Linked DNA regions of Homo sapiens: region 2 is linked to region 1. The links are contacts of gene promoters, found by promoter capture Hi-C in blood cells and fetal thymus (Javierre and others, 2016). All regions are on one chromosome and are shown on one strand. Each heading gives the region's core, a stretch centred on a gene start or on the middle of the fragment in contact. The rest is flanking DNA. Distances are from core to core; before and after follow the strand shown. Region 1 holds the start of ZBTB33 (zinc finger and BTB domain containing 33). Region 2 holds the start of PGRMC1 (progesterone receptor membrane component 1).

Region 1 (7,186 bases), core at 957-3,456:
ATGAACACACAGAAGTTATTTCGCCTGTAAATGATTGAAATGTCAGAAAAGCTCAGCGCGTGCAATACTGTGTCTGAAATACATACTCTTAATTTTAACTAATCTTTAAGAATATATGCAGAATCTACACCCTGGAGCCAATGACATTTATAAACACTGACAATTATTACCTCCCAACGTCCCATTATTTTTCTGTTATTTAAATTGGGGTGCCTCATCTTGATAAACTATTAAACATCTTTCTTACCCTTTCCTCTTTCTTCATCCCCTTGTCCCTTCCCCTCATCTCTCCATCTTTACAATTTCCAGAGGTGGAATGTTAAACAGTGCCAAGTGAAGTCAACAGACACTATCATGAAAAAATATGACAAAGGAAAAGGAAAGTTTACCATTTCTAAATGCCCACTTCCAAGAAAACACGAAACATTTTATTTTTGTTGGTAAAGAATCATATGCATTGGTATGAGAATTTTTTCCACACCAAATGAGTTAGTGAAAATGAAAACATTAACTTATTGGAATAGACTACTCTAGAAAAAGGGGATGATGTCAGTAGAATGCATTGTTGTGTAGCACTAGCAAAACATCATTTTTTGCACTTTGCAGAAGATATTTCCAGTAACAAAGAGGCCAGAGTTTAAAAAAACCCATATATTAAAAATATATAATATCCATACATATTATATATGGATATATTTTAATATATGGATATTATATATTAACAATTAGTTGACAAGTACTTTTAGTGAAGAAATATTTTTATTAATATTCTCTCCCTTTGAAGTTACCAAAAGGGTGTCGATGTCACAATGCTTAAGTTATATACAGGTGGAGGGCAGTTCTGTCTCAAATACCTTCTAAATTTTTCAAAATGATACCTTAAGAACAAACAGCAGGCAAAAAGTCTAAAAATCAAGATTTAAAACATTATTAGAAGGTGTTGCATGTTAACAGTACCAAGGAATTCCAGGTTACCATAAAGGCATTCATCATCAGAAAGGGTGACCTTTGGACAGTTTGCCAAAAACCAGGGCTTCCGAAATACGGGCATTTCGACAGAAGTCGATATTAAGTGGAAAGACAGGTTTTCTGAAAACGGCACGCAATTTTTGTCATTTGCTCCCGGGTTCTTCCAATATGGGAATGCGTCAAATGTACGTGTCCAGGTGACACTGGGACTCGGTTTCGTTTCGTTTATGTGTCCCCCTCCTCCCACTCAGGGTGGCCCCAGAGACAGCACAAGTCGGTCTGAACCCACTCCGAAGATATGCGATTCGACTGTGGAAAAGCCATTCCACATCACTGTGAAACCCTTGACCGAGGGCCAGTTCGGAGGAGCTGGTGACGGTGGAAAGAGATAAAAGCCATCCGCGAGGGAGTGAAACAAACCGACACGCGGCTCCCTGCGGCAGCTGAACCTCATCTCCCTTCCTCCACCTCCCTCTTCCCCATATGGACCCTGCCAGCTGCAACCGAGGTTTTTAACCCCAATTCACGTGCAAAGCAAGCTTCTTGCAAATACAGACGGAGGTACAAACAGCAGAGTGAGGGCGGGAGGAATATGGGGTACCAGGGAAAGTAGAAGGTGGCGAACGGCAGGGTGGGGTGTTGGGGGGGGGATGAAGCGAAGCAGGCGGCATTGTTGTGCCCCGGGAAGGGGACGGAAGGGGAGGATGGGCCTGGCAGAAAAGCTCTAAATCAAAGTAGGGGCTAGGGGAGTAAAAGAGGCACAAAAAAGCAGCGAGAGGGGCGAGGGAAAAGCCAAGTGGGTCTCTGTGATGGATTCCCCAAGCCCCGGGGCCTACCCAGGGCACCGGCAGCCCCTCGGCCCCTAACGGCGAAGGGGACCGCGCCGCGGCCCTCGCGGCTCGTCCCCTCCTTCGCTCCCCGGCCCACACAAAGAAAGAGCCGGAGGAGCTGAGCCTCCGACTCTGCCGCTTCCTGGTTCAAGTGAGGCGAATGCAAACGCAGGCGCGGCCCAGGGACGGAGAAGGCAAGCGCGCTCCTTCGCCCCCTCCCTGATTGGGGCCGGGTCCTCACCTGCTTCCCGGCGCCGCCGCTTCTCCTCCTCCGGACGCGCGGAAGGCTGGGAGTCCCCCAACAAGAAGAAGCCGCACTCCCCAGCGATTCTGCCCCTTCTTTAAACGTCGCTCCAGTCTGGGTCGACGTCGACGCGGCCGCCGCCTCCTGCCGCCAACGCTGCTACAGCTGCCCCACGCCGCCGACAGAGGGCACAGCGCGGGGGCGAAGCGCTGAAGCCAAAGGCGCCCTCCTCTTCCGAGCGCAGGCCGGGGTGGTCCGGAAGGGCCCGAGCTTGAGGCGGCTCCACTTCGGCGCCGTGCTCTGCCTTCGGTTCTTTCCGCAAGGGGGCGGAGGAAGACTGGGAAGCTCTTGTGTGTTCGGCTCTTTCCGGAGGGCTAACGGGTGGGAAAAAAGGAAAGGGAAAGATCGGGTAAGACAGTCGCAAGCAATTGGATGGAAGGGAAGCGAGTCGTTTTCATCGAAATTCAATGTGAACTTCTAGGGCATACAAACTTTTAGAGACTATACAGGTTTCATTTATTTTGCAAGTTTGAATCTGCTCTATTAGACTGTTTGCTAGATGATAAACCATCTTGAAATATAATCAAAATACATACAATCAAATAGAAATTCACAACTTCTTATGGTAATTCAAGTTCTGGGATAACAAGAGAGCAACTACATTACAGTAACTACTTTTAAGAAAGAAATTTAGTGTTTGGACAACTATCTTCTTAATTGAATACTAAATGGTGCAGTACTATGTTAATTCCCTCATTCCAACTAGCATTTACTGACCCCCTGCTTGATCTGTAGCAAAAACCCTATGTTAGGCTCTCGGGAATACAAAAATGAATAACCCAAAGGTCTCTACCTCTTTAGGGAGCTCAGTAGGTAGGTACACAAACATGGACAAAAATATTTGTACAAGGTGTAGAAGCAGAGAGAAGAGAATAGCAAATTGAATGCTGTCATTTGACCTGTATCTTGAAAGATTAATAATATTAACACTTGCATTTTTAATTTTTTATTGTTACTATTTTAATTTTTTATTATTACTATTTCCATAACATTTCATCTTCAGAGGGCTTTAGTGTCTGACACATAGTATGTGTTCAGTGATTGTTTAATGACCGAAAAAATACATTGTGAGTTACATAATTTTTTAAAATCCTCTGGTAATACCCTTCCAACTGAGTACCATAATAAATGAAGCAACAGGATGGGTGTTTGGAGAGCAAAATGTTTCCCTTTTAGGCTGGTTATTGATCGTATTCAACTAAGGAACCAAATAGTAACTTTTTTTCTGCCATAATTAAGGCCATTCACTACCTTCATTATCTTTTTAAAAAGATATATATAGGATAATACTGCATTCATTTCCAAAATCTTAAATTTGTACCTATTAATACCTTGCAGTGGAATTCCTGTGCTTCTTTCCTAAAAAATCTTGCTGAAAATGTCCATCAGGATATTAGACTGAAAACAGATGTAACTATATCTAATTTTCTCTGACAGGAAATCAGACATGGATGTCATCATCTCATCTACCTATCCCTAATCTATTCTTCATCCTCCTCAATAAAGTAAAGCCACATGGTATAATAAAACATCAAAGTGGTATAATATAGCTGTATTTCACATGGAAATATGCAATTCCTTAAGCTCTTCTCCAAGATTTTGTATTGTGGGAAAACAAACTATGTGGGAATTATTGCATTATTGATTTTTGATTAGGACTTAGCATTATGAAAAGTTTCATTGTTTACTATAAAGATATTTCATGGCAAATAGAAGTATGCTGTTGTAAAATAAACTAAGGCAGATTAGTATTTTTCCTGGCAACTGAGTACTTAATAACCATTTTTCTGAGTTATCCTCCCCAAAACTTAGTAGTAAAAAAAAAAATCTTAGTAATTAGAACAAAGTATATCTTGAAAGTTTAGGATCTATTTATCTTTCAGTGGCTTAATTGATGAAAACTAAAATGAGACATATCTTTGAAATACAGATCACAGTGGCAATAGATGCCACTCTAGATATCATGTTTGTTGGTCAGCTCTCAGTAAACTGGAAGGCACAATGCAATTTATTTTGTACCAGCATTTACATCACTGAGGCTGGCAACAGAATTGCCATGCCATTGTCACTTTCCTGAAAGTATTTTAAAAGTTTGGAGTACCAACTAACATATGATGAAACCTGTTCATTCAAAGCACAGTAAACCTTCTCTTCCCTTCTTGCTGTATCTCTCACCCCCTAACCAAGCAAAAACTAAACAAGTTTAAAAGCTACCTATAATGAAAGGGGGTCCAATGGTCAGGAAAGGAATTTTATTTGTAGGAAAGCAGAACAGACCAAGAAGCCTGAGTGGCCTTAATAATTGTCTTTGGGACAGGATCACTGGAAAGTTTAATTAATTTTCTGTTTCTCAACTAGTCATTTCACTTTTACTTTTGTTTTTAATCTGGAGGGCTTAACCCTACTTCAAACAACCCAGTAGTTTGAACTCTATTTCAAACAACAACAACTCACTTTGGGAGGCCGAGGTGGGAGGATCACCTGAGGTCAGAGAACAACCTATATCAAATGGATTTGGAGGTATCAATTGTTTCACATTCTAGAAAGGTTTTATTGGCTGAAAATGGGATGAGTTAGGTTTTATAGCCGTATTGTCAGCGTTTGCTTGCCTTTTGACCTTGATTGTGAATTCCATGAGGGCGGTAACTGTCCTCTCCTGTGTTAAAATGCCAACAATCTTGTGGGTGCTTAATATATATTAATTGATGACAAAAGATAAAGTGACACTCGTTCAGTCTTAGAGCACTTCCTATATGTTATGCTTATGGTTACAGATTTGGTAAGGTCACTCCATGGGATCTGCAGAAACCCTAGTAAGGTAGAGTGGAAGAAACAAAGTCTTAAGCAGAAGATGTGAGTGGGTTGGAATTCTGATACTGCCACTTCCTAGCTCTTTGATCTTATGCCTGATTCTTCATCTGTAAAATAGGGATAATAATACCTTCCCACAGAGTCACTTTGAGGATTAAATGAATCAACTATGCATAGTGTCAAACTGCTCACGGTTTCCAGAATATGCCATGCAATTTACTGCCTTCAAGTCTGAGCCTGGAGCCCTGAGCTTGGAATAGTCATTCCCTTCATAGCCACACCTCGCTTAACCTGTTGTCTGGTTAGTTCCTGGCAAGTGCCTGGTTTTCCATAAAAACCCAACTCAAGTACTAACTTATTTGTGAAGCATCCCTTGGCCCAACAAATTGTAGATAGAGATGGTTGCTTAATGCTGAACGAATGAGTGTCTGGAACCCAGTAAGTGCCAAATATATGTTGCTTTCTCACCACTATCCCCTTTTCTGCTTAATCCCAACAAATCTCTCTTTAAGTGACCTGTCTAATACTGCCTATTGCCCTTTTTTCTTAAAACTTTCCAAAGTCAATTGGATAGGGATATATAACTCTCCTACTGGAAAAGGAGTCGTCGATAATTGCTAACAATAATACAATCTACCAAAAAAAGCAACAGACAGCTTATTCCAAACTTGAACAAAATTGAGGGAATATACTACCTATGAGTCATTTGTGAAAATTACTTGGCAATATATGAAGTCAAATCAAATAAGAAATGAGTCCAAATAAAGAATTAAGAATGGAGATTTTGCAGTAAGCCAATCTATTTAAGTGGAAGACTAAGTCCAAACAACAGATTGATTATGACTATGTGACAATGAAACTTATAAAGCCCGACACTGTAAACTTCATTCATTTTTTCAATACATATTAAACATATATCATTTAGTATTTACTCTGTGCCAGGCAGTGTTGTAGGCAGTGTTGTAGGCACTGTGGATATAATTATCATCAAGTTGAGATATTGGTCTTCATGGAACTTACATTATAATGGAAGAGACATACAATCAACATTTGTATATATATAATATAAATATATAATACAAAAACAGAAAGTAGTAAGTGCTATGAAGAAAAATAGAGCAAAGGGATAGAGAATGATGAGGGTGTTATTGTAAATTGTGTGGTCAAGCACAGCCTCTCTGAAAAGATGATGTATGGCCAAAGAATGGAATGAACTAAGGGAAAGGGCCATATAAATATCTGGGGAAGAACATTTTAGGCAGTGGAATGTGTCATTGCCCTTCAACCAAAGACTACCAGAAACATACCCATAGTTGACAGATTGAGTTTATTACTCTTACTCCAGGGAGGGACAACACACACTATAGGTAACTATGATGTGTTTCAATAAGAAGTTGTTAGAATGAACCTATTATAGGATTTGGACAATTTGGGGGAAGGTCTAGGAATCAGGAGTTCCGTCTCAGATACATCAGAAAGCAGGGGCAATTGTATGATTGCACATTTCAATAAATCTTATTTATAGGGAGGGCAGACTAGAGGGAGGATAAAGCTGTACATTAACTGGCAAAGTAGCAGTGACCTATCTTGGCCAAGAAGGGGTGTTTGGTGTTTTCTGGGTGTCACAGTGAGCTTGTTTTTGTCTGTGCTTAGACAAGCTTATGAAGTGGTCTTGTTTTGTCTCACTTGATCAGGCTCCCAGTGATCTTGTCTTGGGTTGGTGTTCTGTGAGTTTATGTTCAACAAGAGAAGAACATGCCTAATTGTGAGTGCGAGGTCAGTTTGTGGATATCAGGGGCTGCTCCCACTTCCCTTTCTCAAACAGCAAGCGAAAAGCCTTAGAATATAAGGAACAAGGCCGGGCACGGTGGCTCATGCCTGTAATCCCAGCACTTTGGGAGGCCGAGGTGGGAGGATCACTTGAGGTCAGGAATTCGAGACCAGCCTGGCCAACGTGACCAAACCCCGTCTCTACTAAAAATACACAAATTAGCCGAGTGTGGTGGCGGGCACCTATAATCCCAGCTACTTGGGAGGCTGAGGCAGGAGAATCACTTGAACCCAGGAGGTGGAGGTTGCAGTGAGCTGAGATCGCGCCATTGCATTCCAGCCTGGGTGACAGAGTGAGACTCCATCTCAAAACAAAACAAAACAAGCAAACAAAAAAAGAATATAAGAAACAAATTTTAGAAGTAGTAGGAGAGGAAGAAGTACAACCGTGGCTATCACCTCATCTTTAATAGAAAGTAGTCACTTTCTACTGTATTATTGT
Region 2 (7,186 bases), core at 2,913-5,412, 1.0 Mb after region 1:
AGTCACTCAGAGTCTCCTGCTGGGCAGCAGTGAGGTCAGAAAGGTCATCGTACTCATCCTTCAGTGCTTCCTTATCCAGGCAAAATGTGGCAAGGCCCCTGGATGCATCTCTTCCAGCAAAGACCCCATACGGCCCCTCTTCAAAAACAAAACCAAAGATCAATTCTTTATTAGACAGTCAATTTCTCTGTGATTTATACACAGAAAATGGCTTCCCTATTCATCAACATAGCCCCATTTTTGAATATCAAATTCCATTAGGAAACCATAGTAATGCTGATATTCTGAACATTATGTAGGAGACACAGAAAGACCTGTTGTCATTTAACTTTTAAATAACTAAAAGTAAATCAAACTGCTATACATTTGCGTCAGTCTCCTGTGGTTTCCAAATAGCTAGTAAAAAAGTCATACGTGGTTAGTGATCTCTTGGGGTAGTGGTAGTAGGGAATCATACAAGAACATTGAACTGGGAGCCTGACAGTTCTAGGCACTTGGGGCTACACCAGTGAGAGTTATGGTTTCTTAAGATAATAAGCACTGATGTGTACATGAAAACACATTTCCTTATGAATATATTCTGATATGTTTTAATGAAACAAAGGTATCTTATAGAGATCTTTGGTTCCAAGGCTCAATTAAACATTAACTCATGGCATCTGCAGAAGAACCATTTTATAACAGTATCGGTGGTTTAAAAATCTATCCACATTACATAACCTTCACTGTCAATAAATAGATAACACAGAGATCAGTCTTCATTATCTGTTTTTTGGTGGGCTTGAGAAGACTGTGAAAATACTAAAATTTTCATGGAAAAGAGGCTGAATCAATACTGCAAAACAACTCTATAAAACAACTCTATAAAATGTGATTATTTGTGATATTATACTGAACTTTTGTCTAAGAGAGCAGAGAATCATTCTGTGGGTACACAAAGTGGATATTTAGACTTATTTAAATATTGCACAACTAAATGAAGAGAATCCAGTGTACTTTAAACAATGTGTTGTTTCCCCCAAGGCAGATTGAATAGCAGCCCTGACATTAAAATGTTTGTAGGGAACCAAGTATGAGAATAGATCAAGTTTCAATATGGCCTGTTCACCTGAAACCTCAATACACTCAGAAATTTTTTACAAATTTTACAACTTTTAAATGCAAGTAAAATTCCAAAGAAAAATGCTTATTTTTAATCATCATTACATGCTGCCACATTCACTAAAGAAGGTAAAAAAAAGCCCACATTTTTCATAAATGTACACCCCTAGTGGAAATGGCAGCACCTAGTGCTTGAGAATAGGCAAATGCAATGGTTTGAACCTTACCATTTCAGAAATTATGGTCATTGGCTTGGTAGAGTGAGTCTTTACCAAGCAAACCTCATAGAATATTTAAACATAGAATATTTAAACCTCATAGAATATTTAAACATTTAAACAATTAAATGTTCTCTAGTGGGAACATTAAAAGTCTTTTAAAAATACATATTATTCAGTGCAACATATATTCACTAGAACGTAAGCTCCATAGGCAGAGATTTGTGTCTGTTTTGCTCACTGCTATATTCCCACATCTACAACAGTGCCTTGCACAGAATTAACAGGCACTAGAATGACTAATTTTTAGGAATCCTTTACAACATGAAGCATCACTTTCTACCAAGATGTCACGTAGTCATGGGCTCACTGAATGACAGTGCAAGATAGAGACAGAGATCTCACAATAGGCCATCTTTATCACTTTTCAGAGGGAAAACTAAGGCTCTGAGAGAACAATGCTTTGCACAAGGTCACACAGCTAGTCATGACCCAATCAGGACTAGAACGCAGGTTGCCTGACTCCCAGTTTTGTGCTCTGTGCACAGGCTGACATCCTCTCAATGACTCTGCAAACTACAGTCATGATGATGCCTCATGCACATGTTTTCACTCCTTTAATATTGAGCTCAATATTAACAGGTATTTACATGATTATGTTTATTGATAAAGCAACTATGTGTGCTACTCTAAGTGACAAATAATGTATGTGGTTTTCAAATGATTTTGACAGTTACATGCCTATAGAAAGCAGGTATTCTAAAATATCCACAGGCCCGGTGCAGTGGCTCATGCCTGTAATCCCAGCACTTTGGGAAATGGAGGTGGAAGGACTGCTTGCGCCCAGGAGTTCGAGACCAGCCTGGGCAACACAGGAGGGAGACCCTGTCTCTAAAAAATAAATAAAATTTATTTTTTATAATAAATAAATGTCTGCAAGAAAAAACTGAGCTCCTTAACCTTAACACATCTGATTTTGATCAGTTGGACTGGGAGACTAAAATGAATGCCTGAGTTTGTGTACTGCCTTCTGTACTCTTCCCTCTCTCAGGCCAGTGTGGAATGAGCACCGTCCATGTGGACATCCTCTAAGCTCCCTGTGTTTAGAGGAGTCCATATTGGAGGAGCCAAAACCTCTTCTTCCTCATCTCCAAGTATTCTATAAAGCAGGACTTTGCAAGCCTGGCTGCTTTTCAAATTCGCCTGGGAAGCATATTAAAATACAGACTCCCGGACCACCCGAGACTCATTTGCAGCTCTGGCGGTTAGACTGGGAATCTGTATTTTTCCTCAGATGCATCAGGTGATTCTGATACGCAACCAGGTTTGCAAAAACCTCGCCTCTAAGGAACCCATCAGGCCTGCCTTCTCCAACAGCTCAGCAGTGCAGCAGTCATCCATTCTTCATTTCCCTCTGGTTGGCTTTTCCTGATATCCCCCCACCCAGCAGTCTTCTTAGCTCTACTCCTTTTGTTTCTTGGTATCCTCCCACTTCTCCCTCCCTCCATTTTAATTTTTCTTGGCTTCTAATCCTTTCTCTCCTGCTATAGACTAAATACCATATTACCTTAAAAGCTTGCCACGTTACCATTGTCCACCATATTCAGCCTTTATTCCTCCCTCAAACAGCCCCCTTCCTCCTTGTTCACCTTCCAGCCTTTCCCCATCTGCCACACACAGCACAAGCGCACACAGACCAAACACATGCCACACACATACCTGACGCATGACCCATTTCAAGCGCGCATGCACACACCACACACACACACCCCTGATAAATCACATACACTAAACACGCACACACCGCGCATGCACACACCACGAGTGCACACACACATCACTATCCACCGGGCACAAAGCTTTTACCTGCTGCTAATCCCGTCTCGGCGTTTTCTCCCACACCCTCATATTTCAAACCTACTCCCGGTGTCATTGGCCTTCCCGTCTTCTCTAGGTCTGGACCTTTTCTCACTCTCGCCCTCCCCCATGCCTCCCTCGGAACACCCTCATTTCCTTCCTAGAACCCGACACTACCCCCTCCTCCTTCCAGGAATCCCCAAGCCCAGGACCTTCGAAAACTACCCCAACAGCCTGGGCTTTGATGTGTCCCCCCTCAACGCCTTCGAGCTTCGTGGTCCCACCCACCCCCGGCTTAAGCGCCTCAGCCTTCTTTCTCTAACCCCCTCCCAGCGCTGTCAGCGCGGGCCGGGGATCCGCGTCCCTGACTGGCCCGCAGCCCCTCTAGAGCGCCTCTTGTTCCCTGCCCGCCCCGGGAGCCTCCCGGCTCTCCGCCTGCCCGCCTACCCGCCTACCCTAGCTCGCCGCCATTCCTCCCTCCACTCAGGGGCGCCCCGCTCCCGCCTCGCCTCTCTCCCGCCCAGCCCCGTGCCGGGGCCCCCTTCTTTTGTCTCCAAGCCCCCCTCGCCGGCCGCGTACCGGGCCCGTAGAATTTGCGGCCTTTGGTCACATCGAACACCTTGCCGTTGATGGCCATGAGTATGCGCGGGTCCTGGACGCCGTCGAAGCGCCGCAGCTCGGCGGGGGTGAAGTCGCGCCGCTTGAGGCGGGGCAGAGGGGGCGGCTCGTCGTCGTCGCTGTCGCCGCTGGCCGCCGGCTGGTCCCCGCGCACGATCTTGTAGAGCAGGAAGATGCAGAGGCCAAGCAGCAGCAGGTTGAGCGGCGACGTGAAAATCTCATGCAGCAGCCCGCCGCTCTCCAGATCGCTTGGGTCGGCGCCAGTCGCCACCACATCCTCGGCAGCCATGATCTCTGGAGTAAAGGTTGGGCCGCGCTAGGCAGGGATCCGGAACTCGCCACTTTCTCCTCCCTCTGAGCGAGCGAGTGGCGCGCGGGGTTCGGCGGCGGCCAAAGACTAGCCGGGGAGGAGGCGGGGCCTGAGGGGCGGAGCCTCCAAGCCCCGCCTCCCCCGAGGCCACCTAAGCGCCCCGCCCTGCTCGGTCCCGCCCCGCAGCCCTCAGGCCCCCTCCAAAGCCTCTAGAGTCCGGCGCCGCTCCCCCGCGGCCGCGCGGTGCCCCCCTCAGTTCTACCTGGGAGGCCCCAGCCCAGCCTCACGCCATCCTCGCGCCATCCTATAGCTGAGCGCGACGCACGCGCTGCCCTCCTCTGAACCCCTTTTTTGCTCCTCGCAGACCGACCCGTTGGGAGGGCCTCGGCATTGCCGGGCTCTGTGCGAGCGCCCCTCCGCCACCTGATGCGCGCCAGACACCGACTCCCTTTCTGTTGCTGCAGGCTTTTCCCTGCCTCCCATTCTGAAGCCCCTCATCTTCCCCCTGCCGTTCCCGGGCCCTCCAAGCTGTCTTAGGAGACAGGAAACTCATTCTTCGAACTCCATTTTCTATGTTAGAGCCCTACACGACTCATTTTCACCTTGGGAACCCCCATTCGCTCTCCTTGATGGCCCTTCCCCAATTCTCCCCCAGATGCTGTGGGACCGACACCCCCGGGATTGCTAAAGTCAGTGCACAACTCTCCCTATTATCTGGGGAAACGAATCTGATCGCCCAGTTAACTTTGGGTTTGTTCTCCGAAAAACCCTTTTGCAATTACTGATTTGCTCAGTCACCAGGCATTAACAAGCAACGTTCTCTTGTTGCTCTTTTTTCCCCCCTCAGAATAATGTGAAAGTTTCTTTGTTTGGCAGCGTTCTTCTATTTGGAGTCTGTCAGGCTACCCTTGGCAGTCACAATAACCCTGAGCTGGAGCCCAGACAAAGGCGGGAGTTTGGAAGGATCCTAGGCCTGGTCCCTTCCTTTCCTAGGTATTTCATCCGGCCTTTGATGTGCTAACAGGCTGCACAGAAGCAGACCTCCACGGAGGAAGGGGTTGCCTCGTCCTAATCTGGCCCTTTTTCTGGTGGCGGGGGGAGGGGAGGAGAAGAAAGGATAGAGAGGGAAACAAATAATTAAAACCAAGCCGTGCACACATCTGCAGCCCAGAGCAGTACTTTTCCACCAAGTGTTCTGTTGGCTTGCACATAACTTACTCCTCCTCCCAACACGCAAGAGACTTGAGTAAAGATTGGCTTCCTACCTCAGAATTCTAAAAATTTCTGGCAAAAACTGCTTCCATCCCTGCCCCCCACATCTTCTTAAATCATTATAAAGTGCAATGAGCCAAACAATCTTTGTATCGGGCCCAGGCATTTTTCTCAGAGCTAAATTTGGGATTAGCTGAAACAGCCCCTCCAAATCTTTTGTCAAAACTCTTCAATTTAATCATGGAGAAACAGGCTCAAACTGAGGGCACTTGTCTATAGTTAGAATCTATCTCTTTTAACATGTATGGCCAAGAAAATTTAGAAAGCTAATAAACTTATAAAATATTTTCATTTGCAACTAATATGACAAAGGGTTAATATTTATTTGAGAGATCATTTGGATTGATAAGAAAATGTATAAGATTCTAGTCAATAAATGGGAAAAAATAGGAACAGGTAGTTCACAAAAGAGAGCATGCCAGTGGTGAATAAGCATATGAAAAATGTTCAGTCTCATTAGTAACAAAAAGAAAAGCATGGAGATGCCGCTGTCACCTACTACTTTTCTACAGGAAAGATAAAAGGGAAAAAAAAAAGGATAACACACTATTGGCGAGAGAGTGGTGAGACTCACATACGCTGTTGGGTATAACCTTTTATTATCCATAAAAATATTTTCTATCCATTAATCCCACTTCTAGAAATCTGCTCTTTGACCTAGTAATTCCATTTTCAGGAATCCATCCCAAGGAGACAGAAACGCAGACAAATATTTCATTACTAAGATGCTCAGCAGAGATTCATTTTTAATACAGAAAAACTGGAAACAACCTAAATGTCCGACTTCAAATAAAATGGCGAATTAATTCACTTGAATTGTGACAAAACCATTAAAAGGCCATTCAAATATCATCATTCTGGAGTCCTAATTAGGGAAAGGGAATCAGGCTGGTGGGAGCATGAAATAGCAAAAAGAAAAAGCAAATAAGCTACAAATCTCCCTTTCTTCATGACCAAGATGCAGCCTTCCTGCGCAAATAATTCACAATCTTCCCATGCCCAGCTATCACCAGACACCTGTAAGTTAGCTCATTGCGACCTTGGCATTATCAATATTACACAAAGACCTCTTCAACAGACAGCATAAACGCCATCCTATAAAATTTCCAGCAAGCCTTTGTCTCCTGGCAGTTGGCTTCTCTCTTGCAGGCTGCCCTTTGTCTCTCTGACAACATATTTTCCTACTTTATCTAATAAATCTACCTTCTTTTAACTAAAACTGTTTTGGTAAATTCTTTTACCAAAAATCATGACATGGCAAAACGCTTGTGTTTTAATCTTGAGGGAAAAACAGGATACAAAACTATATACAGTATGAACTCAACTATGTCAAAAAATTCATAAAACAAAGCGTGGAAAGAAATATGCTAAAATGTTAACTGTTGTGATTGTTAGTTTCTTCCTTATACCTTTCTACATTTTCCACAATGGGCATGTGTCACTTTTAACCTCAGGGGGGAAAATGGTTTATTATTTATTTTCTGAAAAAAAATGTAGAATGATAATACATGTTCACTATAACAAACTTAAACAATACGTGAGTGTATAAAGTAAAAAATGAAACTCCTTTCTCCCTCTCCAAGTTCCCCAAACAGTACTTAAATCAGGCCCATACATTAGCAGTTTGGCTTATATTCTTGCAGACATGCAACATACACACACACACACACACACACACACACACACACACACATTTTGTTTTATAAAACTGGGGGAAATTTTATATAATAAAAGTTTTATCATTTTTTTCCAATAAAGAGAGACACAGAGTAAAAAAACAAAACAAAAACCAAGCCATTAGCTCCCCACC

The links. The method cuts DNA at HindIII sites, captures the fragments that hold promoters and counts their contacts. A CHiCAGO score of 5 or more calls a contact.
Region 2: the fragment with the promoter of PGRMC1 here is called in contact with the fragment with the promoter of ZBTB33 in region 1 in 2 of 17 cell types (activated CD4 T cells and non-activated CD4 T cells); the score reaches 7.8 in activated CD4 T cells.

What each region holds. Positions count from the first base shown.
Region 1 is chrX:120,245,832-120,253,017 of GRCh38, reverse strand. ZBTB33 (zinc finger and BTB domain containing 33) reads right to left here and starts at 2,206. Exons shown (of 3, transcript NM_001184742.2): 1 at 2,041-2,206; 2 at 248-349. It also overlaps a transcript of TMEM255A not described here. RefSeq lists an enhancer at 1,661-2,499. The HindIII fragment of the contact is 5,064 bases long and covers 1,511-6,574 here.
Region 2 is chrX:119,233,261-119,240,446 of GRCh38, reverse strand. It overlaps PGRMC1 (progesterone receptor membrane component 1), which reads right to left and starts at 4,162. Exons shown (of 3, transcript NM_006667.5): 1 at 3,756-4,162; 2 at 1-138. The coding sequence starts at 4,083. It also overlaps the pseudogene NUDT19P6. RefSeq lists silencers at 3,550-3,699, 4,100-4,359, 4,390-4,439. The HindIII fragment of the contact is 8,490 bases long and covers 3,181-7,186 here.